Linked DNA regions of Homo sapiens: regions 2, 3, 4, 5, 6 and 7 are each linked to region 1. Evidence: promoter capture Hi-C in 16 types of primary human blood cells and fetal thymus (Javierre and others, 2016). All regions are on one chromosome and are shown on one strand. The core of a region is centred on a gene start or on the middle of the fragment in contact, and the rest is flanking DNA. Distances in the headings are between cores, read along the strand shown.

Evidence for each region. The method cuts DNA at HindIII sites, captures the fragments that hold promoters and counts their contacts. A CHiCAGO score of 5 or more calls a contact.
Region 2: a contact is called between a fragment that was not itself captured here and the fragment with the promoter of UBE2V2 in region 1, in 3 of 17 cell types (total CD8 T cells, fetal thymus and naive CD4 T cells). The highest score is 8.4, in total CD8 T cells.
Region 3: a fragment that was not itself captured here is called in contact with the fragment with the promoter of UBE2V2 in region 1 in 1 of 17 cell types (neutrophils); the score reaches 6.4 in neutrophils.
Region 4: a contact is called between a fragment that was not itself captured here and the fragment with the promoter of UBE2V2 in region 1, in 1 of 17 cell types (monocytes). The highest score is 6.1, in monocytes.
Region 5: a fragment that was not itself captured here is called in contact with the fragment with the promoter of UBE2V2 in region 1 in 1 of 17 cell types (monocytes); the score reaches 5.5 in monocytes.
Region 6: a contact is called between a fragment that was not itself captured here and the fragment with the promoter of UBE2V2 in region 1, in 3 of 17 cell types (total CD4 T cells, naive CD4 T cells and total CD8 T cells). The highest score is 8.4, in total CD4 T cells.
Region 7: a contact is called between a fragment that was not itself captured here and the fragment with the promoter of UBE2V2 in region 1, in 1 of 17 cell types (neutrophils). The highest score is 9.4, in neutrophils.

The regions. Positions count from the first base shown.
Region 1 is chr8:48,007,055-48,009,754 of GRCh38, forward strand. It overlaps UBE2V2 (ubiquitin conjugating enzyme E2 V2), which reads left to right and starts at 1,377. Exons shown (of 4, transcript NM_003350.3): 1 at 1,377-1,416. The coding sequence starts at 1,401. RefSeq lists silencers at 1,083-1,342, 1,573-1,772. The HindIII fragment of the contact is 2,629 bases long and covers 1-2,154 here.
Region 2 is chr8:47,265,951-47,268,650 of GRCh38, forward strand. All of the region lies in intron 1 of SPIDR (scaffold protein involved in DNA repair), which reads left to right. Among named protein-coding and RNA genes, the nearest start is that of SPIDR, 6.4 kb to the left of the region's middle. The HindIII fragment of the contact is 3,553 bases long and covers 1-2,700 here.
Region 3 is chr8:47,311,920-47,314,619 of GRCh38, forward strand. All of the region lies in intron 5 of SPIDR (scaffold protein involved in DNA repair), which reads left to right. Among named protein-coding and RNA genes, the nearest start is that of SPIDR, 52 kb to the left of the region's middle. The HindIII fragment of the contact is 5,254 bases long and covers 1-2,700 here.
Region 4 is chr8:47,204,903-47,207,602 of GRCh38, forward strand. No RefSeq gene overlaps it. Among named protein-coding and RNA genes, the nearest start is that of SPIDR, 55 kb to the right of the region's middle. The HindIII fragment of the contact is 1,089 bases long and covers 862-1,950 here.
Region 5 is chr8:47,356,554-47,359,253 of GRCh38, forward strand. The region is part of intron 5 of SPIDR (scaffold protein involved in DNA repair); the gene reads left to right. LOC107986940 (a long non-coding RNA gene) reads right to left here. Exons shown (of 3, transcript XR_001745888.3): 3 at 1-1,471. Among named protein-coding and RNA genes, the nearest start is that of SPIDR, 97 kb to the left of the region's middle. The HindIII fragment of the contact is 8,146 bases long and covers 1-2,700 here.
Region 6 is chr8:48,947,513-48,950,212 of GRCh38, forward strand. No RefSeq gene overlaps it. Among named protein-coding and RNA genes, the nearest start is that of SNAI2, 27 kb to the left of the region's middle. The HindIII fragment of the contact is 763 bases long and covers 1,042-1,804 here.
Region 7 is chr8:47,285,868-47,288,567 of GRCh38, forward strand. The region is part of intron 3 of SPIDR (scaffold protein involved in DNA repair); the gene reads left to right. Among named protein-coding and RNA genes, the nearest start is that of SPIDR, 26 kb to the left of the region's middle. The HindIII fragment of the contact is 8,846 bases long and covers 1-2,700 here.

The DNA of each region.
Region 1 (2,700 bases), core at 127-2,626:
TATTTTTTTTTTTTTAGTAGAGACAGGGTTTCACTGTGTTAGCCAAGATGGTCTTGATCTTCTGACCTCGTGATCCGCCCGCCTCCGCCTCCCAAAGTGCTGGGATCCATGCCCGGCCAAAAGCATTCCCTTTGAAAGCCGGCACAAGACAAAGATGCCCTCTCTCACCACTCCTATTCAACATAGTATTGGAAGTTCTGGCCAGGGCAATCAGGCAAGAGAAAGAAATAAAGGGTATTCAATTAGGAAAAGAGGAAGTCAAATTGTCTCTGTTTGCAGATGACATGATTGTATATTTAGAAAACCCCATAGTCTCAGCCCCAAATCTTCTTAAGCTGACAAGCAACTTCAGCAAAGTCTCAGGATACAAAATCAATGTGCAAAAATCACAAGCATTCCTATACACTAATAACAGACAAACAGAGAGCCAAATCATGAGTGAACTCCCATTCACAATTGCTACAAAGAGAATAAAAATACCTAGGAATACAACCTACAAGGGATGTGAAAAATCTTTTTTTTTTTTTTTTTTCAGTTTTATGTAGAGACTAGGTATCACTATGTTGTCCAAGCTGGTCTCAAAGTCTTGGGTTCAAGCCATCCTCCTGCCTCAGCCTCCCAAAGTGTTAGGATTACAGAAGTGAGCTTCGGCGCCCAGCCTGTATTACTTTCCTTTTTCTTTCTTTCTTTTTTTTTTTTGAAATGGAGTCTCCCTCTGTTGCCCAGGCTGGAGTGCAGCGATTTCTGCTCACTGCAGCCTCACCTCTTGGGCTCACGTGACCCTCCCACCTCAGCATCCCTAGCTGTTCAAATTTATTGTCCAACTCTTTTGAATCGTTTATCAACGCAAATCTGTCAATGCCCACTTATTTTTATTTATTTTTTTGAGGCGGAGTCTCGCTCTGTTGTCCAGGCTGGAGTGCAGTGGCGCAATCGCGGCTCATTGCCCCTCCGCCTCCCCGGTTCAAACGATTCTCGTGCCTCAGCCTCCCAAATAGCTGGGATTACAGGCGCGCGCCACCACGTCCGGCTAATTTTTGTATTTTTAGTAGAGACGGGGTTTCGCCATGTTGGCCAGGCTGGTTTCGAACTCCTGACCTCGGGTGATCCGATCGCCTCGGCCTCCCAAAGTGCTGGGATTACAGACGTGAGCCACCGCGCCCGGCCCTCATGAACTTATTCTTTAGCGTTTCATTTTGAGAGCGGGATTCACAAGGGAATTGCGGAAACAGCAGCGAGGCCCCGCGACCCCTCGGCCCACGTGCGCGCTGTCCCTCGGGTCGCCCCGCGCCCGCCGGGGGCGGAGTCCGCTGTGACGCGTGCAGGGCGGCGCGCTCCCGGAAGTGACGCGCGACGGTTCGTGCGTGCGTGCGGGCGGCTGCGTCGGGCTGCAGGAGAAGATGGCGGTCTCCACAGGTCGGTTCCCGGGCCGGGCTGCGTGATTTTCCGCTCCGACCCGGCTCTGCCCCTCCGTCTGCTGCTGGCGCCCGAGCGCTGACCGTGCGGGAGAAGCCCGAGTGCGCTGTCTCGAATGCCGCGCTCTCCGCAGAGCGTAGCCTGGGACCGGGTGGGACCGGCGCCGAGGCCCCGGCGGCCGTCGGGTTGGCGGGTCGTGCTCGCGCGTCGGCCGCGCGCCGGCGGGCTGGGGGCGGGGTGGCTCCCGCGCGGGCGCCCCCGTAGGTTCCGGCGGGCGCGGGTCCGAGTTGTAGGCTGAAGGCTCTACGGGAGGGAGGCGAGGAGGCCCAAGGTGGGCGGGTGTCAACCTCCGGCACCGAAGATGGGTCAGGCCAACCGGCACCGAAGATGGGTCAGGCCAAGAGGTGTCCTGGATCAGAGTAGGGGTCCCATTCCTTTGGACTCTCCTTGACATGGGTTGGGGAGTAGAGGACGATTGCTCCTTAAAATAAGAGCGAGAGGATCTTTCTTACCTGACTGAATACGTGTGATCTTTTTATTATTTATGAGGAAAACTGCAGTGCAAACAAAATAAAAGACCAGAGCAAGATGAAAGCTAATTGAAGAACAAGTGGTTTCTTAGATAAGCTGTTCAACTCCTCTTTCCTACTGAATACAATGTTTGGTTTCCTGTGAGCACACAAGTATTAACGTTGAGGTTTTAGACATTAGACCATTTCAGAAATGTTAAAAACGTTAAGCTTTAGTTTACATTTAAAAATGTTAACCCGTGTGATCTGCCTTTTTCTTTTCTTTTCTTTTTTTTTTTTTTTTTGAGTCAGAGGCTCACCCTGTTGCCCAGTTGGAATGCAGTGGTGTGATCTCGGCTCACTGCAACCTCCACCTCCCAGGTTCAAGTGATTCTCCTGCCTCAGCCTCCCAAGTAGCTGGGATTACAGGCGCGTGCCACCAGGCCCGGCTAATTTTTGTATTTTTAGTAGAGACGGGGTTTTGTCATGTTGGCCAGACTGGTCTCGAACTCCTGACCTCAGGTGATCCGCCCACTTCGGCCTCCCAGAGTGCTGGAATTACAGGTGTGAGCCACCGCGCTCGGCCTGATCTGCCTTTTCCTAGTCTTCGTTGAAACAAGAGTATAGAGCAGTGTGATTTAATAGTTTATGCCATCATTGCATAATAAAATGAATTTTCAAATCTATATGTACTGAAATGGAAGGCTTTGAATATATGTTGTAATTGTTGCTTTAGAGTAATACCTCAGGATACATTCTGCATACATTTTAATTA
Region 2 (2,700 bases), core at 125-2,624, 740 kb before region 1:
CACCTGCCAAAGGCCCCACCTCCTAATACCATCAGGTGATCTGCCCGCATCGACATCCCAAAGTGCTGGGATGACAGGCGTGAGCCACCATGCCCGGTCTGAAGTTTTTTTTTTTTTAATACAACATAAAACTCTCATGATTTATCGAAGTTGTTGTGCATATCAGTAGTTTCTTTGTCTTTTTTTTTTTTTTTTTTGAGTTGGAGTCTCACTCTCTTGCCCAGGCTGGAGTGCAATAGCGCGATCTCGGCTCACTGCAACTTTCCGCCTCCCCAGTTCAAACAATTCTCCTGCGTCAGCCTCCCAAGTAGCTGGTACTACAGGCACCTGCTGCCATGCCTGGCTAATCTTTTGTATTTTAGTAGAGACAGGGTTTCACCGTGTTGCCCAGGCTGGTCTTGAACTCCTGAGCTCAGGCAATGCAATCCACCCACCTCGGCCTCTCAAAGTGTTAGGATTACAGGCATGAGCCACTGTGCCTGGCCAATAGTTTCTTTGTTTTAATTGCTGAGTAGTGTTCCATATAATGGATATACCAGAGTTTGGATTAACATTTATTATTGAAGGACCTCTAGGCTGTTTTCAGGTTTTGGTTATTGCAAATAAAACTGCTATAAACATTTGTGTACAGGTTTTTGTGTGAACATAAGTTTTCATTTCTCTGAGATAAATGCCTAAGTATGTAATTGCCAGAACCTATGGTAATTTGATGTTTAACTCTATAAGAAACTGACAAACTTTTCCAAAGTGGTTATATCTGTATAATTTTGCAGTCCCATTGGCAATGTTGTTATTCAGTTTTATAGATAATAAAATCTACCCTTTTAAAGTGGAAAATCCAGTGGTTTCTAGTATATTTACAGAGTTGTACAAATGTTCCTAATTGTAGAATATTTTCATGACCCCAAAAAGAAACCCCATAGCTATTACTAGTCAGTCACTCCCCATTCTCTCTTCCCTCATCCATTGGCAACCACTAAGCTACTTTCGGTGTGTATGGATTTGCCTATTCTGGACATTTCATATAAAGTGTGGTCATTTTGTGACTGGCTTCTTTCATTAAAAATAATGTTTTCCAGGTTTATACATGTTGTTGCATGTATCAGTACTTCATTCCTATTTATTTTGAATAAATTTTTTATTGCATGGACATACTGCATTTGAAAAATCCATTTATTAGTTGATAGACATTTGGATTATTTCCACCTTTGGGCTGTTAAGAATAATGTTGCTTTGAACTTTTTTTTTTAATTGAGATCCGGTCTCATTATATTGCCCAGGCTGGTCTCAAACTCCTGGCTGGGCTCAAGAGATCCTCCCATCTCAGCTTCTCAAGGTGTTGGGATTACATCCGTGAGCCATCGCACCTGGCCTGCGTTGAACATTTGTATATGCATTTTTATGTAGACCTAAGTTTTTCTTTCTCTAGCAGTGGAATTTTTGGGTCACATAATAACTGTATGTTTACATTTTGGATAACTGTTAGAATTTTCCAAAGTGGTTGCACCTTTTACAGTCTCACCAGCAAGGAATGAACATTCTAATTTTGCCACATTCTTGCTAACACTTGCCATTGCCTGTCTTTTACTTTTAGTCATCCTAATGGTTATGAAGTGTTACCTCACTGTGATTTGGTTTGCAGTTCCCTAATGAGATTGAGCATCTTTTCATGTACTTATTGGGCATTTCTGTATCTTCTTGAAGAAATGTTTATTCAGCTTATTTGGCTGCGTTTTCATTGGGTTATTTGCTGTTTTATTGTGGAATCACGAGTTCTTTAAAATTCTGTATACTGTTCCCCTATAAGATGTATGATTGCAGATATTTTCTCTCATTCTTTGGGTTTTCTTTTCATTTTCTTATTGAAGTACAAATGTTTTTAATAATTTTGATGAGGTCCAATTTGTTTTTTCTTTTGTTTCTTGTGCTTTTCGGTGTCATGTCTAATAAATCATTGCCTAAACCAAGGTCACAAAGATTTATTCCTATGTTTTCTTCCAAGAGTTACAGTTTTAGCTCTTACATTTAGGTCTGTGATTCATTTGGAGTTAATTTTTCTACACACTGTGAGGTAGGGGTACAACTTCATTCTTTTCGATGTGGATACCCAGTTGTTTCAACACTGTTTGTTGAAAAAATTGTTCTTTCTCCTTGAATTGTCTTGGCACTTTTTTGTTTTAATTGAAAATCAGTTGACCATAAAAGTAAAGGTTTGTTTCTGGTCTATGAATTCTATTCCACTGATCTCCATGTCTGCCTTTATTCTAGTACCATACTGTTTTAATTACTGTAACTTGGCAGTGTTGAAATTAGAAGTGTGAGTTTCTGACTTGTTTTCTGTTTTGAGATTTTTTTAACTGTTTTGGGTTCATTACATTTCCATATGAATAATAGCAGCTTGTCAATTTCTGCAGAAAGCCATCTGGGATTTTGATTTTGTTGAATATATAGACAAATTGGAGAGTATTATCATCTTAACAATATTATTTCCCATGAGCATGGGTTGTCTTTTCATTTATTTAGATCTTCTTTAATTTCTATCTATGTTTTACAGTTTTCAGTGAAAAAGTCCTGCACTTCTTTGGTTAAATTTATTCCTAAGAGTTTTATTCTTTTTGATGCTATTTTGAATGCAGTTCTACTGGCACATGCTGCTGCACGTGGCTAATATTTTTTGTTAATTTTTTGGTAGAGATGGAG
Region 3 (2,700 bases), core at 109-2,608, 700 kb before region 1:
CCAAGTGTTCTCATTGTTCAGTTCCCACCTATGAGTGAGAACATGCGGTGTTTGGTTTTTTGTCCTTGCGATAGTTTGCTGAGAATGATGGTTTCCAGTTTGATCCATGTCCCTACAAAGGACATGAACTCTTCATTTTTTATGGCTGCATAGTATTCCATGGTGGATATGTGCCACATTTTCTTAATCCAGTCTATCATTGTTGGACATTTGGGTTGGTTCCAAGTCTTTGCTATTGTGAATAGTGCCGCAGTAAACATAGGTGTGCGTGTGTCTTTATAGCAGCATGATTTATAGTCCTTTGGGTATATACCCAGTAATGGGATGGCTGGGTCAAATGGTATTTCTAGTTCTAGATCCCTGAGGAATCGCCACACTGACTTCCACAATGGTTGAACTAGTTTACACTCCCACCAACAGTGTAAAAGTGTTCCTGTTTCTCCACATCCTCTCCAGCACCTGTTGTTTCCTGACTTTTTAATGATCACCATTCTAACTGGTGTGAGATGGTATCTCATTATGGTTTTGATTTGCATTTCTCTGATGGCCAGTGATGGTGAGCATTTTTTCATGTGTTTTTTGGCTGCATAAATGTCTTCTTTTGAGAAGTGTCTGTTCATATCCTTCACCCACTTTTTGATGGGGTTGTTTGTTTTTTTCTTGTAAATTTGTTTGAGTTCATTGTAGATTCTGGATATTAGCCCTTTGTCAGATGAGGTAGGTTGCGAAAATTTTCTCCCATTTTGTAGGTTGCCTGTTCACTCTGATGGTAGTTTCTTGTGCTGTGCAGAAGCTCTTTAGTTTAATTAGATCCCATTTGTCAATTTTGGCTTTTGTTGCCATTGCTTTTGGTGTTGTAGACATGAAGTCCTTCCCCATGCCTATGTCCTGAATGGTATTGCCTAGGTTTTCTTCTAGGGTTTTTATGGTTTTAGGTCTAACATTTAAGTCTTTAATCCATCTTGAATTAATTTGTGTATAAGGTGTAAGGAAGGGATCCAGTTTCAGCTTTCTACATATGGCTAGCCAGTTTTCCCAGCACCATTTATTAAATAGGGAATCCTTTCCCGAAAACTGGCACAAGACAGGGATGCCCTCTCTCACCACTCCTATTCAACATAGTGTTGGAAGTTCTGGCCAGGGCAGTCAGGCAGGAGAAGGAAATAAAGGGTATTCAATTAGGAAAAGAGGAAGTCAAATTGTCTCTGTTTGCAGATGACATGATTGCATATCTAGAAAACACCATCATCTCAGCCCAAAATCTCCTTAAGCTGATAAGCAACTTCAGCAAAGTCTCAGGATACAAAATCAATTTGCAAAAATCACAAGCATTCTTCTAGACCAATAACAGACAAACAGAGAGCCAAATCATGAGTGAACTCCCATTCACAATTGCTTCAAAGAGAATAAAATACCTAGGAATCCAAACTTACAAGGGACGTGAAGGACCTCTTCAAGGAGAACTACAAACCACTGCTCAATGAAATAAAAGAGGATACAAACAAATGGAAGAACATTCCGTGCTCATGGGTAGAAAGAATCAATGTCGTGAAAATGGCCATACTGCCCAAGGTAATTTATAGATTCAATGCCATCCCCATCAAGCTACCAATGACTCTCTTCACAGAATTGGAAAAAACTACTTTAAAGTTCATATGGAACCAAAAAAGAGCCCGCATTGCCGAGTCAATCCTAAGCCAAAAGAACAAAGCCGGAGGCATCACGCTACCTGACTTCAAACTATACTACAAGGCTACAGTAACCAAAACTGCATGGTACTGGTACCAAAACAGAGATATAGATCAGTGGAACAGAACAGAGCCCTCAGAAATAATGCCACATATCTACAACCATCTGATCTTTGACAGACCTGACTTCTTATCAGAAATAATGCAGGCCAGCAGGCTATAAACACCTTTAAAGTACTGGGAAAATAAAAATCAACTCAGAATTCTGTAGCCAAATAAGAAAACATACTTTCTAGCTAAGAAAATCTTTATACTACAAGAAATGTTTAAGGAGATACTTCAAGCTGAAGGAAAGTGTTACCAGCTGAAACTCAGAACTTCAGGAATGAAGAGCACTGCAATTGGTAAAAATGTAAGTCTTCCCCACTCCATTAAGAAATATACAGTTGTGACTGTTTAAAGCAGAAATTATAATGTTACAATATGGCATTTATATATGACTGCTGTGTATAAAGGATGAGTCTAGGTTGATGGAGCTGTGTGCTTACTGTGGTCTTTATTTTATGAAGGGGTAGAATTAGCTTTAAGTACACTGCAAAGTTAAAGATATACATTATAATTCCTAGAACAAACACTGGAAAAGAAAAAAATGCAAAGAGGTGATAACTAAAAAACAAGAGAAGTCAAAATGGAATTCTGAAATGTATTTAGAGAAAATGAAAAAAGGTATAAAGGAAGGAACAGCAGAATATAAAACAAATGAGATGTGTGTCAGTCTGTTCTCATACTGCTAATAAAGACATACTCGAAACTGGGTAATTTATGAAGGAAAGAGGTTTAATTGACCCAGTTCAGCATGGCTGGGGAGGCCTCAGGAAACTTACAATCATGGAGGAAGGGGAAGCAAACATGTCCTTCACAGGGTGGCAGCAAGGAACAGAATGAGAGCAAAGTTGGGGGAAAGCCCCTTATAAAACCATCAGATCTCCTTAGAACTCACTCATTATCACGA
Region 4 (2,700 bases), core at 156-2,655, 800 kb before region 1:
ATCGCTTGAACCCAGGAGGCGGAGGTTGCAGTGAGCTGAGATTGCACCACTGCACTCCAGCCTGGGTGACAGAGCGAGACTCTGTCTCAAAAAAAAAAAAAAAAAGAACCCCACAGGCCAAAGCTGAACCGGCTCAGGAGGTGGTACTATGGAACCATCTGAAAGACACGCTGGGTCAGGAATGTTGAGCTCGCCTCTATTTTCACCACAGAAAACAGGAGTCATGTGTGCACAGCCTCCTAAATGGGCCAATGGTCCTCAATCTTGCATGTCTCAAGATAATCTGTGGAGCTTCATAAATGTATAGCTCCTTGGGTGAAAATTCTGATTCAGGAGGTCAGGTGAGGTATAGATTTCCATAGTACAGAAAATAAAAGTTCCTCGGATGGTTCTGATGTTGAGCCAAGATGTATAAATCACTAAAATAAGCCATTGGAAAACATGATTGATTGTAAGGATATGGGTATGGATAAGGATTTAGGAGATGCCCTGAGGTCCTCTCTCTTCCAGAACCTTATTCTTTTCTTCATAGGCATGTGCCATGCTTGGTAATTTCACATTAACTTGTTTTGTGTCTGTCTCCCTCACTAGAATGTCAGCTTCTTAAGGGCAGGCACTGTGGCTGCTGTATTCACACCAATACTCCCGGTACCAGTATCTGGGAAGGCCTAGTGCTCAATAAATATTCACTGAATGAATGACAAGGAGCTGACTTTATGTACTTTTCATTGTCTTATATTTCAGATAGTGACTATATTTTTTTTTCTGTAAAAAATACAAGCATCCAAGTATGGTGGGAAAATCTACAAACACTATCACACACACAGAGACAAGAGCACACATACAGCAGTGACTGATGAAAGCTTAGGTGAGCTCTTAGTTCTCAAGGCTGTAGACTGAGGGAAGGGAGAGGAAGCAGGTTGGGGGCGTGTGTGTGCAACCCTTTTCCTCACTGAGTTGCAGGTAGGGGCATTGTGAGGCCAGCACCTCCAGCCTGGAACACTGATCCAGGACCCCCTAGTGTCTGGGGCTTGAGGCCCCACCCTGTCTTCTCAGGACTCTAAGCACATCTATTTCCAGGTATTTTCAGCTGCCACAGCCAGGAGGAACAGAATTGTTCCCCTCCCTTTCTGAGGCTCACTTTTAAAGCACTGGACTTGTGGAATCCAAGGCTCTCCCTGAAACACCAGTTCTGAGTGGATTTAAGAGGGTGGGGAGGGGAAGGGATCCTCCCCAACTAAATTTCACAGCTGCCCTCCTCATGCAATACAGGCCACGGCCTGCAGATGGGCAACAGTGATGGAGAGAAGCAGGAGTAGTACAGAATGAATTTGTGAAGACATGCACACACATGCACACACACACACATTTGCACATGCATGCACATGCACACATACCCCACTGCAAGAGAAAGGAATGTGACCCGTGGGCTGGTCTCTGGGCTGGGAGGCCCTGAGGCTGAGCCTATGGGAATCAGTCAGGAGGTTCTGCTGTTGCTCAGGCTTCTGCCTAGAAGCACCTTCTGCAAGATTGATGCTCCCCAGAGACTGGGGAAGAATCAGTAACTACCTCCTCCCCTGGCTGCCTGAGAACACCCAGGGCTTGTTATAGAATCTAACTGGGGTCCACTCACCCAGCGCAGTAAAACCAGATATCTAAACTGAGGGTTTTGCAGTGAATAGAAAGGAAGGCATTTATTGCAGGGCACCAAGCAAGGAGAATCTGGCGGGCTCCTGCTTAAAATCTGAACTCCCCGGTGGCTTGCAGATAAGGGTTTTTAAAACTAGTAGTACATTTCAGGAAAGCAGAAGCTACAGGCAAAATCACAAATCAATACACAGAAGTTACATGTTGTTTTTGGCCCCAAAGGGTGGGATATCTTGAAGCAGGGGCTTACAGGTCATAGGTAGATTCAAAGATCTTCTGATTTGCAGTTGACTAAAATAGAGAAGCTTTGTTTAAACATTTGGGGTCAGTAGAAGAATGTTAACTGGTTATGAGGAATGACTTTCTCTAAACCCCTTGGGAAGAAACTTAGAACCAAAAATCGTTTAAAGTTTAGTCTTCACTTCCCCTTTATCTGGGGGAATATGTCAGTGGATCCTTTCTGTGGGGTCCTCAGTGGGGATCCAAGCCTCTGAAAGACAACTCAGGGACATAAGCTAAGAGATTATCATTGGTTTCTGTAGGGAAAGCTAATATCTCTGGGACTCTAACCTCTTTAGCTATTGTTTTAGCCTACTGTTGTCTTCTTAACAAGTCACTTATTTACTTGTTGGGGATTGCGAAGTGCCTGGAATTGCCCTCAGAGGAACTCAGGATTTTCCTTTATTTCTGTGCTTGGGGTCTGCAGGCCCCTTAAAAAGGGGGTTCTTGCTTTCTCTCACATCCCTTACCCCAGGTTAACATAGTCAAGAATCTGAGAAAAAGGCAATGAAAATAAAACCTCTGTGTGTCTCACTTGGGAAGAATCAACTGTGCAGCTCCAGAAGTCACAGCTGCTCTCAGGTGAGCCTCCTTCCTAAGCTCTCTCCCAGGGCTGCTCCAGGGCAGCTGTCCCCATCCAGATGACTAGAATCCCACCCCATGAGACACACCAAGCCACTTGCTAATTCCTTGGGAGGTCTTGCATTTCCCCCGCAGGCCTCATCTCTGGAAACTCTCCCCTTATCCCACCCTCTCTCAAAGTGCCCTCTGCCC
Region 5 (2,700 bases), core at 198-2,697, 650 kb before region 1:
ATTTGAAAACCTATTACCAGGATTATATACGATAGTTAAATTTTAAGTAGACTGCTCATTAACAAAGCTGAAGTGTCCCATGGGTTGACTATGTGGCTATGATTGTATAACTTATATTTCCAGAAGAAATTTTAGTGGAAAACATGATTGCACAGACAGCACATTTGCAGTGGGTGGTAGCAGGGGATAGGGGGTGGTTTGCATCTGTTACCTAAAGTAAGACCAGTATGAACATAAAGTCCTAGAAAAATTTGGATACTGAACTTTGGTTTTTAAAATGCGTACAGTAAATGAAGCTGCTGTTCTGTGAGCACCTACCTACCATGTGGGGTGCTGCAGAATCTATTTTACACATATTTTCTCACTCAGTTTCCTCAATGACCCTGTTGAAATGGGGTTTATTTTGCATATGGGGTAACTTGGCTGTGTCTCAAATAAATTAAAAAGTTGCCTAGCATTACTTGCCAGGAAGGGGCAGAATGAGAACAACCAAGGGAATCTTAGAATTAGATCATAAGAGAAGAATCCCATTGTGTTCTACTAGTCAGTTTAAGTTGAGTGCTTGTGTAACATATTTTCTTAAATAGGTAGGAAATTAGGGGAAAGAGTGTGAATTTATTGGCTAGGCTTATAAGAGAACAGATAAGATTTCTATGCTAGCCTGCTTCTTGTTCATCTTTTACTAAGAGTCTGGCATCCAAATTTCTGGACCTTGGCACACTTTGGTATTTGGTATGAAGAAAGGAAAATCATTCCACCTGGTTCCCATGTCCCGACACCCACGCCATAACTACCTGTCAGAACTCGCTCTGCTTATCTGTCCTGCGTGGGAGATGGCAGCACTCTGCCCTGCTCAGTGTATGTCTCGTGGTTACTTGAGACATCCACCAGGCTTAGCTCTAGGATATCTGCCCGAAGAAAAGATGGAGTGGAGGGGCTTAGATGGCCAAGAGAAGAAATTCGCTCAAATCAAACTTCTTTATTTATCTTATTTTTCGTCCATCGTTTTACTCTGGTTATGGGTTACATTCTTTCTGTGGTATGATGGAGCAAGGTAGCATTTATTTTCCTCACCATATAATTTTTGGTTCTTTTGTTTCAATTGAATTGAACTTCTAAGAAGGCAAGCACAATGAGCATAGTACTCATTTCCATAAATATGTGCTTTTGTTTTGTTTTTCACTTTTAAGAAAGAAATTTGAAGTGTGGAAGTTGGAGTTCTGAAAAAAAATTAGGGAAGGAAATGGAGAGGATATAAGGAGAAAGGAAAGGAGATCTCATACATGTTAATCGTCTAGTGTTTAAGGCCACATGAAGGTCAGTAAATGATACTGGAGAGCATTAAATAAGAAGTACTCACCTGTGATTTCAGCAGGCTTGCATGTAGTCACGAATATATGTGTGGTTTACATTCACTCTGGCAGTCTTTCCTCTCCAACCTGGTGAGAATTAGCATCCTTGTTTTCCAGACCTGTTAACCAGTAAATGACTGTTCGGCAGACTATTTTATTTTTTATTTTTGTTTGCATATTCATTTGTTTTAGGTCTCGCTCTGTTGCCCACAGTGGAGTGCAGTGGCTGTTCACAGGTGTGATCATGGCTCACTGCAGCCTTGAACTCCTCCTGGGCTCAAGGAATCCTCTAGCCTCAGCCTCCTGATTAGCTGGGACTACAGACATGGCACACCACCGTAGCTAATTTTTATAAAAAGTTTTATAGAGATAGAGTTTCACTATGTTGCCCCAGCTGGTCTCAAACTCCTGGGCACAAGTGATTCTACCGCCTCAGCCTCCTGAGTTGCTAGGATCACAGATGTGAGCCTCCTTGCCTGGTCATTTATTTTTTTTAATTTTTAAAGAAATAAATATTGAGAGATTATCTTATTTTTTTCTCAAATACCTTATGTTAGAAATGATAAATTTACAATGTATACTCACTTCTGAGTTTGGCCTGTTTTCCTGAGGTGTCAGAAGACAGGATCTAACACTAGATTTTAAGATTAAGGTTTGAGGCTAAGATCTCTCTACAGCTTTCCCACAACAATCTTGTGAAGAAGAAATGATGAACTCAAGCCATGTCATTTCTCCCTGTTGCTATTTCTAAACATGGCATGGCATTGGCTTGGATTGTCTCATTAAAATTTGTTTTGCAGTTCAATTGCATTATCTGATCCCTATATTACTTCAGTAGCAGAATTTTAAACATTTTATGTCCATTTTCTGCTTTTATGGGCTTTAGTCCTGCCCATTGGTATTTACATTTAGGAAGTTAGGACGTAGGATACATATATACAGACATACTCCTCCCACCCATTGCAGCACAAATAAATCTCAATTGATTTTTCTCTCTATTAATAAAATAACCTGTGATCACATAAATTTCTGGTAGTCTCTAGGTGGAGGCAATTGGAGTTAACATTTTTGTACAGTTTGTTTTCATGTTAAGACACTAACTCTAGCATGACTAGGATTTCAGAGACATCTGTTTATAGGATTGAGCACAGAGATCTGATTCCCTCCCACCAGTTAAAAAAATTGTTAAAAAAAAAAGTTTTTTTTTACGGGCGCCTGTAGTCCCAGCTACTCGGGAGGCTGAGGCAGGAGAATGGCGTGAACCCGGGAAGCGGAGCTTGCAGTGAGCCGAGATTGCGCCACTGCAGTCCGCAGTCCGGCCTGGGCGACAGAGCGAGACTCCGTCTCA
Region 6 (2,700 bases), core at 173-2,672, 940 kb after region 1:
TTTGCTCATGTATATTATTTAGAAATCTATTGTTTGATTTCCTAATATTTGTGGTTTCCCCAAATTATGTTGTTATTGATTTCTCATTTAACTTTGTGGTCAGAGCATATAGTTTGTATGATTTCAACCCTTTCCATTTATTAAGACTTGGTTTATGCCAGGATATGGTCTGCACTGGGGGATAGTCCATGTGTACTTAAAAAGGGTGTGTATTCTGCTGCTGTTGGATGGTATGTTCCAGAGGTGACTGTTAGTTCAGGCTGGTTGATCGTGTTCCTCTATGTCTTTATCAACTGCTATTTTTTCTTATACATGAGCCATAGTTTCCTATTTCCTTAGGCATCTTAAGATATTTTGGTAAAAACTAGATATTTTAGATAACATAAGATAACAACATTGCAATCAGATCCCCATCTCCTCCTGCCACCCTGCAGGATTTGTGTGGTTATTGCTGTTTTCCTATCATTATTTTTCTTTATTAACTTTCCTAGACTAACTCCCTGAAGTCTGTATTCCCTGTTGTGTGTTGAGCACTGAACTCTTAGTTTTTAGTTAATGATTGATCAGTGATTTCCTTAGGTGTCTCACGCCAGTAATTCTACTCTTTTCTGAGAGGCTGTATGTGTGTGCATGTGCATGTGTGCATGTGTGCATGTGCATTTGTGTGTGAGTGCATGTGTATGAGTGTGTTCACGTGCATGTGTGAGTGCATGCGTGTGTGTGTGTGCATGTGTATGCATGTGCGTGTGTGCATGTGCATGTGTACCTGTGTGTGCATGTGCAAGAGTATGTGTGTGAGTGCATGCATATGCATGTGAACATGTGTATGTGTGTGCATGTGTATGTATGTGTGCATGTGCATGTGTATGTGTATGAGTGCATGCGTGTGTGCATTGGGTCACACGTTCAATGCTGAGACAATTCCATGTTAGTTTCCACTTTTAGCTTGCACAGAGCCTCCAGGTCAGCCAGAGATAGCTGGGACCCTCCATGTTTTTCCTGCACATGCACTTGGCCTTCTAGATCTCCAGGAATATGCCAAGCTTTTCACATCCCCCTTTGGACATCTTCTCCAGATCATTCTTTTAAATTTTTGGTCAGGCTCCTGTTTGCATTAGGCAGCTGCCATGTTAAGCAATTGCCCTGGGATAGAGTTTTTCAGGAAGGGAGCTCTGAGCCAGATTGAATAATGGCAATACCTTGGAATGTGGCTTTTCCAAGGAGCTAGAAGACAGACGCGATTGCACCACTGCACTCCAGCCTGAGTGACAGCGAGACCCCGTCTCAAAAAAAAAAAAAAATGATGTTTCCCAAAATGCATTCAATGCAACTATGGAGGGAAAACAAAAATTGAAAAGAAGATAGGAAATTGAAATGGAATTATTTCAAATTCAGATGAATAATAATAACCAGGAAATAAAACATAAAGATGAAGAGGATTTTAAATAACTTTTTAGGGAAGAAAAAAAAATCTAAATTTAAATAGAATAGAAAATGGAGAGAGGAAATCCTTCTTCGTAGCTCTAAAAAATTAATTCGAGGGGTCAAACTAACTTACTTTCACCTGGCACCCTGATTTCATCTTCAATAATTTTCTGGGCGTTAATCATTCTTATTTCCCTTCATAATATAAGACTAGTGACAACTGGCCACTAAACATTTGAAATTTCAAAAGGTAAGTGTCATGAATGCAATTGTTTTGGATATCCGTGAAATCATATATCTGAAAATATTCTAGCATATATCCTCTATCACCAGACGTCCTTGAAAACATGGAGAGAAGTCACTGTGGGGTGGCAGAATAAGCTTCATGAGTGATAAGGTGTCTTTCACCTCCAGGGGCTGGAGTTCAAGGCTTGCTGTGGTTGCACACATTTGGCCTTCTCTCTACGACCTCACTTTGTCCTCAGTGGATATCTGGCTTGGGCCTCCAGTCTGTCATGTGATGGCTGTAGTGTAGAACAGCAGGCCTGCTCCCTTGTTACAGGGTCTCTGTTCAGCATTGACAAGCATTTGACAAGGAAGGACTGAAATATTTTGGGAACCTGAGTAAGTTAGAGTTTACAAAAGGCCTTTGTGCTTTGCCAAGCTGAAATGTTATTTCTGATGGACTAAATGCCAGCTCTACCTGAACCTAGGGAAGTGAGAAAAATGAAGTTTCCGCAGTAACCACAACACAGCCACTCCCAGCAGCAGGAGGGACCTTTAGTGCATGTGCAGCTGGGGCCACGGCCTGTCACACACAGGAAGCGGTCACAGAAAAGCTCAGTATTGTGGTTGAGGTGTGTGCTCTTCATACCTCATCAGCACAGCAGGAAAGAGCCCCTAGGATGGATGTTCCCCCTCCTCATTTGAGAAAGGAAATAACGTGATGTTCATGACTATGCAACTTCTGTAGGAACATGGCATGGTGTTAAATTCCAAATACTGCTTCTTCTGGTGATTAATATATTACATATTTGCATGGGAGCAGTTTACAAATAAAAATGATGTTTTATTGTTAGTCTGAAAGCTAGAAGAAGGAGGTAATATTTTTAATAACTGTGGCACTTCAGTTCTGATTATTTTGTGGGGGTCACTTGTTTCCATTAGTGCCAGTGACAATACATTTTGATACTCTGATTCCTGGTAGGTCATTTTCACATATAGTCAAAAATTTCAGTATAAAGACTTAAAGGACCACGGTAGCTATTAAGATGG
Region 7 (2,700 bases), core at 135-2,634, 720 kb before region 1:
GACAGTGCCTAGCACACAGTGGGCACCCAGAAATGTTCAGTGTGGCTAATATTTATCCTACGGTTCCATTGGAATGAGCCTTGATATCAAGGACACCCTCTTTACAGCAAGTGAAATGAGTTACTAATCAATTCCTGGTAGTGATTTTAACTACCTAGTTGTGCAGTCAGGTGCCTATAATTCATGGGTTTATAAATCTAGAGTCCTGGTCTCTGAGGTTTTGAATGACATAACTAATGATTATCCTGTCTTTTAAATTAGATGGTACAGAAGCACCAGACAGTTACATATTTTCTTAGATACTCACACTAAACTAATGGTGAAAGCAACTGCAGGTCTCTCTGACTTGAGAGCTACGCATAATGGTTAAGAACATGGACTCAGAAGCTCACCTGCCTGGGTGTGCGTCTCAGGCACCACAGCTGCTGGCTGAAAAAAGGCATTACATTTGGGAAGTCCTTTCCAATGAATGACTCATAACATAGAAACTGTATGAATAAAGCTGGTAAATTCACCTAAACATAAAGGGAAAAACAGCATGGCCAAAATTACATATATAAGTCTGATAGGGTGGCATACGTCTGTAGTCCCAGTTACTTGGGAGGCTGTGGCAGGAAGATCACTTGAGCCCAGGAGTTTGGGGCTGCAGTGTGCTGTGATCATGCCTGTGTACAGCTGCTGCAGTCCATCCTGGGTGACATAGCAAGACCACATCGCTTACAAAAAATTACATGTACATACACAAAATTTAAAATTCAGAAAAACCAGGGAAAATACTGTGGCTCATGTCACAGACCAAGGCTGATCTTTCTAATAAAGAACCATCAGAACTTAATCTAGGGGGAAAAAGATAACTATTGCAAAAATAACGATTATGGAGGAACTGCTTTCAAAAAAGGAAATATAAATGATTTTCAAACCTATGAAAAGATGCTCAGCCTCAAGGCAGTGAGAGGTCATTTTTTTCTGATCAGATCATCCAGAATCTTAGTATATATCTTTCTGTTTGTTCTTTCATGTTCTTTTGAAGTCTTCTAAAAACATGTACTTTGGTTTTACATGTCTCTTAAGTATTGGGGGAACCCGCCCCCAATATTTCAACGTAGGTTCTTTGTATTTTCCCTAAGTGTCGGCCAGCTGAGAAATAAAGAGAAAGAGTACAAGGAGAGGAATTTTACAGCTGGGCCTCCAGGGGTGACATCACATAACAGTAGGACCGTGATGCCCACCTGAGCCACAAAACCAGCAGGTTTTTATTAAGGACTTCAAAAGGGGAGGGGGTGTACGAACAGGGAGTAGGTCACAAAGATCACATGCTTCAAAGGGCAAAAAGGAGAACAAAGATCACATGCTTCTGAGGCCAATAAAGATCACAAGGCAAAGGGCAAAGCAAAGATCACAAGGCAAAGGGCAAAGCAAAGATCACAAGGCAAAGGGCGAAATCAAAAACTCCTGATAAGGGTCTATGTTCAGCTGTGCACATATTGTCTTGATAAACATCTTAAACAACAGAAAACAGGGTTGGAGAGCAGAGAACTGGTCTGACCTCAAATTCACCAGGGTGGATTTTTTTTCCCCACCCTAATAAACCTGAGGGTACTGCAGGAGACCAGGGTGTATTTCAGTTCTTATCCCAACCGCATAAGACAGACACTCCCAGAGTGGCCGTTTATAGACCTCCCCCCAGGAATGCATTCCTTCCCCAGGGTATTAATTATTAATATTCCTTGCTGGGAAAAGAATTTAGCAATATCTTCCCTACTTGCATGTCCGTTTATAGGCTCTCTGCAAGAAGAAAAATATGGCTGTATTCTGCCTGACCCCAAAGGCCATCAGACCTTATGGTTGTTTTCCCTTGTTCCCTGAAAATCGCTGTTATTCTGTTCTTTTTCAAGGTGCACTGATTTCATATTGTTCAAACACACATTTTACAATCAATTTGTACAGTTTAACACGATAGTGGTCCTGAGGTGATGTACATTCTCAGTTTATGAAGATAACAGGATTAAGAGAGTAAAGACAGGCATAAGAAATTATAAAAGTATTATTTGGGGAATGATAAAGGTCCATATTAAAATGAAATCTTCACAATTTATGTTCAGAGATTGAAGTAAAGAACTTGTAAAAGTATTAATTTTGGGAACTGATATATGTCCATATTAAAATGAAATCTACATAATTTATGTTCCTCTGCGGTGGCTCCAGCTCGTCCCTCTGTTCGGGGTCCCTGACTTCCTGCAACACTTAAGTTTCTTGTAGGTATTTTATTGGTTTTTGCTACTGCTTTAAATTTGATTTCTGTATTGTAGTTTGTACCTTGCCACCTTTATTGGACTTCCTTATTAACGGTAGTAATTTTTCAGTTGGTTTCTTGACTTTTCCATGAATTCATTTCATAATTTGCAAATAGTGATAACTTCCTTCTTTTTTTTTTTTGAGATAATGTCTCACTCTGTCACCCAGGCTAGAGTACAGTGGTGTGATCTCTGCTCACTGCAACCTCTGCCTCCTGGGTTCAAGCAATTCTCTGCCTCAGTCTCCCGAGTAGCTGGGATTACAGGTGCCCACAACCATGCCTGGCTAATTTTTTGTATTTTTAGTAGAGATGGGGTTTCACCATCTTGGCCAGGCTGGTCTTGAACTTCTGACCTCGTGATCCACCCACCTCGGCCTCCCGAAGTCTAGGATTACAGGCGTGAG